3 separate regions of the Homo sapiens genome follow, and regions 1 and 3 are each linked to region 2. Evidence: promoter capture Hi-C in 16 types of primary human blood cells and fetal thymus (Javierre and others, 2016). All regions are on one chromosome and are shown on one strand. Each heading gives the region's core, a stretch centred on a gene start or on the middle of the fragment in contact. The rest is flanking DNA. Distances are from core to core; before and after follow the strand shown. Region 1 overlaps ARNT (aryl hydrocarbon receptor nuclear translocator). Region 2 holds the start of PRPF3 (pre-mRNA processing factor 3). Region 3 overlaps MTMR11 (myotubularin related protein 11).

What was found. Contacts are between HindIII fragments. The CHiCAGO score rates a contact against its expected background, and 5 or more counts as called.
Region 1: a fragment that was not itself captured here is called in contact with the fragment with the promoter of PRPF3 in region 2 in 1 of 17 cell types (monocytes); the score reaches 5.6 in monocytes.
Region 3: a contact is called between a fragment that was not itself captured here and the fragment with the promoter of PRPF3 in region 2, in 1 of 17 cell types (neutrophils). The highest score is 5.1, in neutrophils.

Annotation. Positions count from the first base shown.
Region 1 is chr1:150,830,687-150,833,386 of GRCh38, forward strand. It overlaps ARNT (aryl hydrocarbon receptor nuclear translocator), which reads right to left. Exons shown (of 22, transcript NM_001668.4): 9 at 1,648-1,713; 10 at 1,132-1,217. Among named protein-coding and RNA genes, the nearest start is that of CTSK, 24 kb to the left of the region's middle. The HindIII fragment of the contact is 1,247 bases long and covers 702-1,948 here.
Region 2 is chr1:150,320,260-150,322,959 of GRCh38, forward strand. It overlaps PRPF3 (pre-mRNA processing factor 3), which reads left to right and starts at 1,274. Exons shown (of 16, transcript NM_004698.4): 1 at 1,274-1,333. RefSeq lists enhancers at 388-953, 1,083-1,132, 1,323-1,372. The HindIII fragment of the contact is 20,070 bases long and covers 1-2,700 here.
Region 3 is chr1:149,931,493-149,934,192 of GRCh38, forward strand. MTMR11 (myotubularin related protein 11) reads right to left here. Exons shown (of 17, transcript NM_001145862.2): 7 at 2,699-2,700; 8 at 2,363-2,450; 9 at 2,118-2,206; 10 at 1,914-2,038; 11 at 772-838; 12 at 452-522. Among named protein-coding and RNA genes, the nearest start is that of MTMR11, 4.0 kb to the right of the region's middle. The HindIII fragment of the contact is 5,928 bases long and covers 1-2,700 here.

The DNA.
Region 1 (2,700 bases), core at 75-2,574, 510 kb after region 2:
ATGAAGTTATACCAACCATCAATAGTTATTCATGTCCCTTGGAAAAGAGAAAAACCAATGTTTTACACAGAAAGGGAAGAAGACTGCATTTCTCCCCTGTTTTTTGCATAGTTATACTCTTTTTATCCAGAAAAATAGTATTCCTTGATGCTACATAGAGGTATGAAAGATCACATACTTTAACTGTGTGGCTTATATAGTATATAGACTAAGTAGTTCAAATGTCATTACTACTTCAGTTAAATTTTTTTAAATTACATTAATTACTTTTATTGGGTTACCTGCCATATGCCAGGCACTGGGCTGGATGCTTTCCTTACATTAAATCTAATCCTCACAAAAACCCTATACAGGATGTACTAACTCTGAATTACAGATGAGAAAACTGAGCTTTATAAAGGTCAAGCAACTTACCCTAGGTGATGCCACTAATAAGTAACAATGACAGGAATCACATCCAGGTTTCTCCACATCCAAAGTTTAACCTTTTTCCAAAACACATCACCTTGCTTCTCTTTTCTCTTAGTTTCTGTCTCCCCAAAACCCCTACTTTCCAATAATACCCAGGCAGCAGGGAAGTAATAAAGTTGCTAAGATTTGGAAACTCTGACAAGCCAACTTAAAACTTTGATCCTGCAACCCAATCACCTTTCTCACATTCCTTGTTTGACCTCAAGTTCTGGTAAAGCTAATCTGCTCAAAGCTTGATTTAAAGTCTTTGCAGAGAATATCCTCTTGATAAGTTATTACAATAAAGGCATTTTCCCCTTTTCTCTCAAAGTCTTGTTCCTACTTTAGAAATCTTTCTCAAATTAACTGCATTCAATGTCTAAGTTTCTTTGCAACAAATGCTTAGAATACATATGTTCAGTATAAATTTGTTCACATAAAAACCACATTCTGTGACACAGCCAATACTGAATCATTTTCCAGCCTGAGTTATCTATCTCCTCAACTGGAATAAAAGCTCAATAATGGAAGGGAAGGATTGTACATTTTCTTTTCCTATTTTCTTTCATCTTACACAAAAGTACATTTCATATACCAGGTATATAATAAATATTAGCTTTCATGGACTCTGTGAGGAACCAACTGTACCAAGGGGAAATATTTACTATTTCACTTTCTTACCTGCTGGGGGCCAGGCCTTGATGTAGCCTGTGCAGTGGACCACCACGAAGTGAGGTTCCCCATCCTTTACAGAGCCAAGTCCATTCCTAGAAGAGTTACAGGAGTTTGAAAAAAAAAAAAAAAATCTACCCGTAAAACTCAAAGGGCAATGCTGCCTTAGTACTTTTAAGTTTATGCTCTTAGGAGTTTAGAAAACAGGATAATCATCTTTCCCACCCAAAAATGACCGCCACATTTTTACCCTTGCCAAAGTAAAGTAACCAAAAGGTATGCAGTAGGAGGAAAGTAGGTAAAATAGCATAGCGACTTCCTTAAACAGGATTTTCAAGAGAAGTTTTAGAAGTTTAGGAAAATATTGCCAGAAAAAAAGTAAGTGGGAGGTAAGGGATGTTAAGTGGGAGGTAAGGGATGCAAGTGAGAGCTGCTGAAGGAACGACTACAGTAAGACAGGTAAAAATGTGATGATCTCTGCAGGTATTTGGCCATCCCTTTGGTTTTCACCACTTAGGATCTCACCTGCATCTGTTCCTCACAAAGCTCAGCCTATTCACAGAAACTGGGTCCACAGAGCTACTGCCACACCTGTTTCAAGGAATAAAGAGATTAAAAGCAATCAGACTGCCCTATCAAAGAACTTTCCACAGTAATAGCAGAATAACATGCTCTGGATACAACCAGACATAGAAAATTGGTAATGCTACTAATAATGAAGGATAAAGATAGGTCAAGTTTAGTATTTCTAAAACTTTTAGAATTTGAAGTCAAAATGTTCCATATGTTCTTCATATGCAAACATTCTCAACATCAAGAGTTGGCAAGCTTTTTCTGTAAAGGACCAGATAGTACATATTTTCAGCTTTGCGGGCCAGAAAGTCTGTTGCAACTAGTCAACTCTAGCATTATAGCATGAAAATAGCCATAGATAATATGTAAAAATATGGGCATGGCTATGTTCCAATAAAACTTTATTTACAAATAAAGGGCTGTGGTTTGCTTACTCCTGCTCTACATTAACCACAACTTAATGTAATTGCTACAGTTCATTATTATCTTGCTCTTGCCTATGTCTTTGCATTAGCCATGTCCACATATTGGGATACTCCTGCCAATGCTACTTTCCCTCTCCCTATCCTTTAAAACAAAAATAAAACTTACATAGGGTTAATATGTGTCATGCTCTGTTCTAAATATCTTTACATATATTAATTCATCTAATCTTCATAACAACTTTATAAAGTCAGTATTAACATTATCGCCAATGTGAGATGATGAAATCAAAGCACAATGTAGTCATGTAATCATCCAAGGTTTCAGAAGATAGCATCAAAGCTAGAATTCAAATCCATAGAATATGGATTAAAACAAAATCCAGCAGTCTGGGTCTAGAAGCTACTCTAAATTACACGCTGGGTGCAGTGGTTCAGGCCTGTAATCTCAGCACTTTGGGAGGCTGACGCAGGCGAATCACTTGAGGTCAAGAGTTTGAGGCCAGCCTGGCCAACATGGTGAAACACTGTTTTACTAAAAATACAAAAATTAGCCAGCTGTGGTGGCAATCCAGCTACTCAG
Region 2 (2,700 bases), core at 24-2,523:
GTTTGGATAGTTTATAATATAAAAATAATGGAATTTTTTCCATTTCTCATATAAGAAATTGTGTCATAATACTGGACAATCTTTTTCCAAACTATCTTTGTCCACACACATGTTGTTATGAATCATCGATTTAAAGAGTCAGTAGGGGCCGGGCGCGGTGGTTCAACCCTGTAATCCCAGCACTTTGGGAGGCCGAGGTGGGCGGATCACGCGGTCAAGAGATGGAGACCATCCTGGCCAACATGGTGAAACCCCGTCTCTACTAAAAATACAAAAGTTAGCTGGACGTGGTGGTCGCGCGCCTGTAGTCCCATCTACTCGGGAGGCGGAAGTTTCAGTGAGCCGAATGCACTCCAGCCTGACGACAGAGCGAGACTCCGTCTCAAAAAATAAAAAATAAAAATAAAAAATAAAGGGTCAGTAGGTTAGAGCCTCATTTTGGAGAGAAGTTAATATATAGACCTATTGATAGAATGGAGAAAACAATACTGGTAGGTCTCACTTGTCATTTATTGAGCCCAAAGTGCTGGGATTACAGGCGTGAGCCACGGCGCCCGGCCTGACACCACTGTTAAATTAGGGAGAAAGGGTTTACTTTCTACCAGAAAGGCTGTGTTTGAACACAAACGCAGAAGCCTCGCTCTTCATTCTAGCCTAAGTTTACTTTTGCGCACTTATTCTCCATATGAGGAAAACAGCAAGTAGCCCAATTTCCGCTTCAGGAAGTTAAAGACATTAACTTGGCAGAAATCGGCCGGGCGCGGTGGCTCACGCCTGTAATCCCAGCACTTTGGAAGGCTGAGGCGGGCGGATCACGAGGCCAGGAGATCGAGACCATCCTGGCTAACACGGTGAAACCCCGGCTCTACTAAAAATACAAAAAATCAGCCGGGCGTGGTGGCGGGCGCCTGTAGTCCCAGCTACTCGGGAGGCTGAGGCAGGAGAATGGCGTGAACCCGGGAGGCGGAGCTCGCAGTGAGCCGAGATCGCGTCACTGCACTCCAACCTGGGCGACAGAGCGAGACTCCGTCTCAAAAAAAAAGCTAAAAAAAAAACCTTGGCAGAAATCTAGCTAATAGGTTTAGCCTGGGAAATAGAAAGCAAGGAAATTGCTCAGGGAAACTTTTCGGTTCTGCGACGCATGCGTTCAGCCTCCAAGAAAGTGGCAAATACGGCTGCGCGAATTGGCGGCCCGGCCCTCCTTGGTCACGTGTTGGGAGACAGCGGCGTGGCGGCGGCGGTGGCGGTAGCGACGGCACGCCGTAGGGCGGTCAGAAGGTTTCCGGTTCCGGTGTAACGTTCGGGCTCCGTCTCAGGGGCTGAAGTTTGTGAGGTGAGTAGTGGCCCCGGGCCCACAGAGGGTAATTCCAGTCCGCGCCACTGTGGCCGGGGACTCAGTCCAAGGGGAGGACCGAAGCGGGAGGGTTCAGCGGGAAGGAGTGTGAAAGGAGTACCTGGTTTGGTGGGAGAAGAGGTTGGAATGAGATTGTTGAGAGGAAAAGGGCGGGGGCGGGAAGGAGACCGGGTTGGGAGACCAGCTCTGGGGTGAGGAGTTTAGGTAGAACAAGGTAGAGTAAGAGACTGGTTGGAGTGACGGAGAGAGTAAAAATGAAGATTAGCGGGGGAGTGGGGGGCTGCAGAGGGAAACTCAGGTTGTAGCAAACAAGAGCACGGAGTAAGGAATTCCTTCTGAAGACTGGATTTGGATTCTGCTGCCTGCTCATTGAGAGGAGAGATCATTGTACCTCGCTTTCCTTCCGCACCCCCACTACCCCCGCACCTCGCAGTTATTGTTGAGCATTTGATTAGTGACAAGGCTAATTACCGTTTGAAACTTTTTTATCCATTGGCTGTTTAGTTTGCACGTCATCTTATGGAGGTAACAGTGGCACCTCATTTATTGCTTTGGGCTTTCAAATTGCTTATACTTTCTAGCCTATCATTCAATTCTAGTGGAATATAAGACCCGTTAAGGTGAGGACTCTTGTTAGTTTTGCTCACTGTTTTATGTATCCACCGCACCTAGTACATTGCTTGACACTTAGTAGTTACTCAATAAATATTTATTGAATGAATTAGGATGTAAATATGGCAGTACTCATTTTGTAAGATGGTAAACTGTGGCTCCAAAGAATTACTTAACTTGCCCAAGGGCTTGTAAATGGTGGGGCTCAGTGTCCCAACTGTTTCTGTGTGAACTCTTGTTTTCACTTTCTATGGCATCTGGATATGCCGCTTTTGTGCAATACATGTGTAATATGTAGAAATTGGTACGCTGTATGTCTACTCATTGTGGGGTAATAGAACCACCATAGAATTACTCACGTAACTTGTCACTGAGGCAGAAAATCTTTCAGTCTTAGTTTCATCACTTCAATCTACTAGCTTCCTTTGGATATACCAAAAGTGAGTCTATTTGGCATCAAGTCTTATAGACTCTAGTATAGAGGCTAAACTTACCAAGAATGTAGAAGTTAATCAGACTGGATTTTTTGGAGAAAAGATGTCTTAAAACATCTTGAAAGATGATTCCCAGATCTTTGATAAGTGGCACTGCTGGGAATAGCTGAGCTTGGAAATTGAGGTCAGTCAATTTATTGACTCCCATTTAGACACCTTTTTTTTTTTTCCCCGGGACGGAGTCTTGCTCTGTCGCCCAGGCTGGAGTGCAGTGGTGCGATCTCGGCTCACTGCAACCTC
Region 3 (2,700 bases), core at 132-2,631, 390 kb before region 2:
GAAGAGAAATACGGCAAGGAGAAGTGAGAGGCACAGAGGGGAAAGGTTTGGGGTAGGAGGATTGAGAAAGCACATAGAAGTGAAGAGAAAACAAAGACCTTGAATGATTCACTTCCTGGACTCCACCCGGATAGAAATACCCAGTTTCACATGTAAGGGGCAGAATCACAATTCTCAAACCAGCTTCCACACTGCCCTTCCCACCCCAACCCCAGTCTCCATCCGCTGATGGAAGGAAAGGAACAAAGGGGCTAAGACCATCCTAGTGTCAGGGACCACAAGTTGTGATGGGGAGGCAGAGGTAGCACTGAAGGATGAGAGTAGAGCTCGCAGGTAGTTCCCAGGAACAGGAGAGGAAGAAGCCTTATGGGTCTCCCTCCCTGAATGCAATCTGGTCAGGTGGGTAAAGAAAAGAGGCAAGGAATGGAATGGGCTTAACCAAGGAACTCACCTTGAAGTATTACAGAACGAACCCTGGATGTCACTAATACTGAAATGTCACTGGCCTTTCGAAGACAAGCCCTGGAGGAGCAGGTGAGGAAGAGGGAGGAAGAATGATAAGCCTAGGGGAATGGAGTGATTTTGATGGGTCATGGGATGGAATAAGGCCGACTCCAAATCCTACCCCTCCTCCTTCTAAAGAGCAGAAAATGGCAGTCTTCTTGGGAAACCGAGGAGAAGAACTAAAGAAAGGCCATTTAGGACCCCAAGTTAACAGAAGGTTGAGGAAGGTTGAATTATAAATGATGGCTAGAAGAAGCGAGGGAGTACCTGACATAGTCCAGCCATCGTGTTCCTTCCAGGGCTGAAAGCCATTTATCCTCAGCTACAGATGAATCTGATAGAGGGTAGAAAGATCAGAAGGGCAAGAGATTAGAACTCAGGATTCAGGATTCAGGTTGATAGCCTGCTGGGTTAAGAACAGGAATGAAAAGTAATTGTAAATGGCCAGGATGGTTTCTAAAATTAAACTGTGGTGATGGTTGTACAACATTGTAAATATAATAAAACTCACTGAATTGTATACTTCAGTGAAGGGTAAATTTTATGGTATGTACATTATGTCTCAATAAAGCTGTTTAAAGAATAAATTGGGGTCAAGAAGACAGGAAACCAGTGAGTCTGTGGGAGAGGTGGGAGAGGTGGGAGGTGAGTAGAAAACAGTCTCACTGGCCGGGCACGACGGCTTGTGCCTGTAATCCCAGCGCTTTAGGAGGCCTTGGTGGGTGGATCATCTGAGGAGTTTGAGACCAGCCTAGTCTAACACGGGGAACATGGTGAAACCTCGTCTCTACTAAAAATACAAAAATTAGCCAGGCATGGTGGCAGGCGCCTGTAATCCCAGCTACTCAGGAGGCTGAGGCAGGAGAATCGCTTGAACATGGGAGTTGGAGGTTGCAGTGAGCCGAGATCACGCCACTGCACTCCAGCCTGGGCCACAGAGGGAGACTCCGTCTCATCTGCCTTTTTTTTTTTTTTTAAGACAAGTTTCACTCTTGTCGCCCAGGCTGGAATGCAATGGCACATTCTCAGTTCACCCGCCTCCTGGGTTCAAGCGATTCTTGTGCCTCAGCCTTCCAAGTAGCTGGGATTACAGGCATCGGCCACCACACCCAGCTAATTTTGTGTGTGTGTGTATTTTTAGTAGAAACGGGGTTTCACCATGTTGGCCAGGTTGGTCTTGAACTCCTGCCCTCAAGTGATCTGCCCACCTCGGCCTCCCATAGTGGTGGGATTACAAGCGTGAGCCACCATGCCCAGCCGAGACTCCGTCTCAAGAAAAAAGAAAAGAAAAGAAAACGGGCTCATTGGACTAAAGAGCTACTCATCTACAGCAAGCAAAGGGTAAACCAGGTTAGGCTCAGCAGACCTAGGGGTGAGGGTGAGGGTTAGGGGTCAAAGGTTATTCTCACCAGGCAGGCAGAGGGCCCTCAGCCTCAGGTGGGCAAGTTGGACATCTGCAAGGCTGGGCAGCTCATCCATAGTGTCTACCAGGACAACATCTGAATGCCCAGCCTGGAGCATCAACTCCACTGCTCTGGAGGGGAGGGAGTCAGGAAATAAGGAGTCTACCCTGAGCACCTAACCCTTGATTCTTCTCATCAAGCCTCCCTCACCTGATATCCTCCTTGTTAGGGTCACTGGCTGTATAGAAGCCTCCACAGCGGAGAAGATCACTGCCCCCAGGGTGATGCCAGGACAAGCGCTTCACATGGGGCAGAAGAGGGTCATTGTGGGAGAAATGCCTAGCTCCACGCTACCCTTGCCCCCACACTGACCTCACAGAGGTTCCTCCCTCCACGATGTCCCTGGCCCACATGACCCTCTAATCCACAGCCATTACCCTAACCATCACACTGACCGGTCCACGGCCCTGATGAAAGTGGCCAAATGCTCTCCTGACCTCACTGTCCAGAATTCGGTTAGGGACCCAGAAGTAACGGGGGAGGCTGTGAAATGAGAGTGATATTACAGTTTGGCTCAGTGACTTCATTATAATGGAAAGCTCTTATTACAAGGAAGCTGCTTCAGAGGGACCATTCCAAGGGATTTCAGGTTTAGGGATCTAGGAGGCAAGGGAGATAGCTTTGTGGGTGTCCTAGGAGGCTGGAGTTTGTGGGAAGTCCTAGCTTTAGAGGATCAAGGAACTAAGGGAAGATTGGGAGAGCAGCAGGGTTGGGGTGCACTGGGGGATCACCT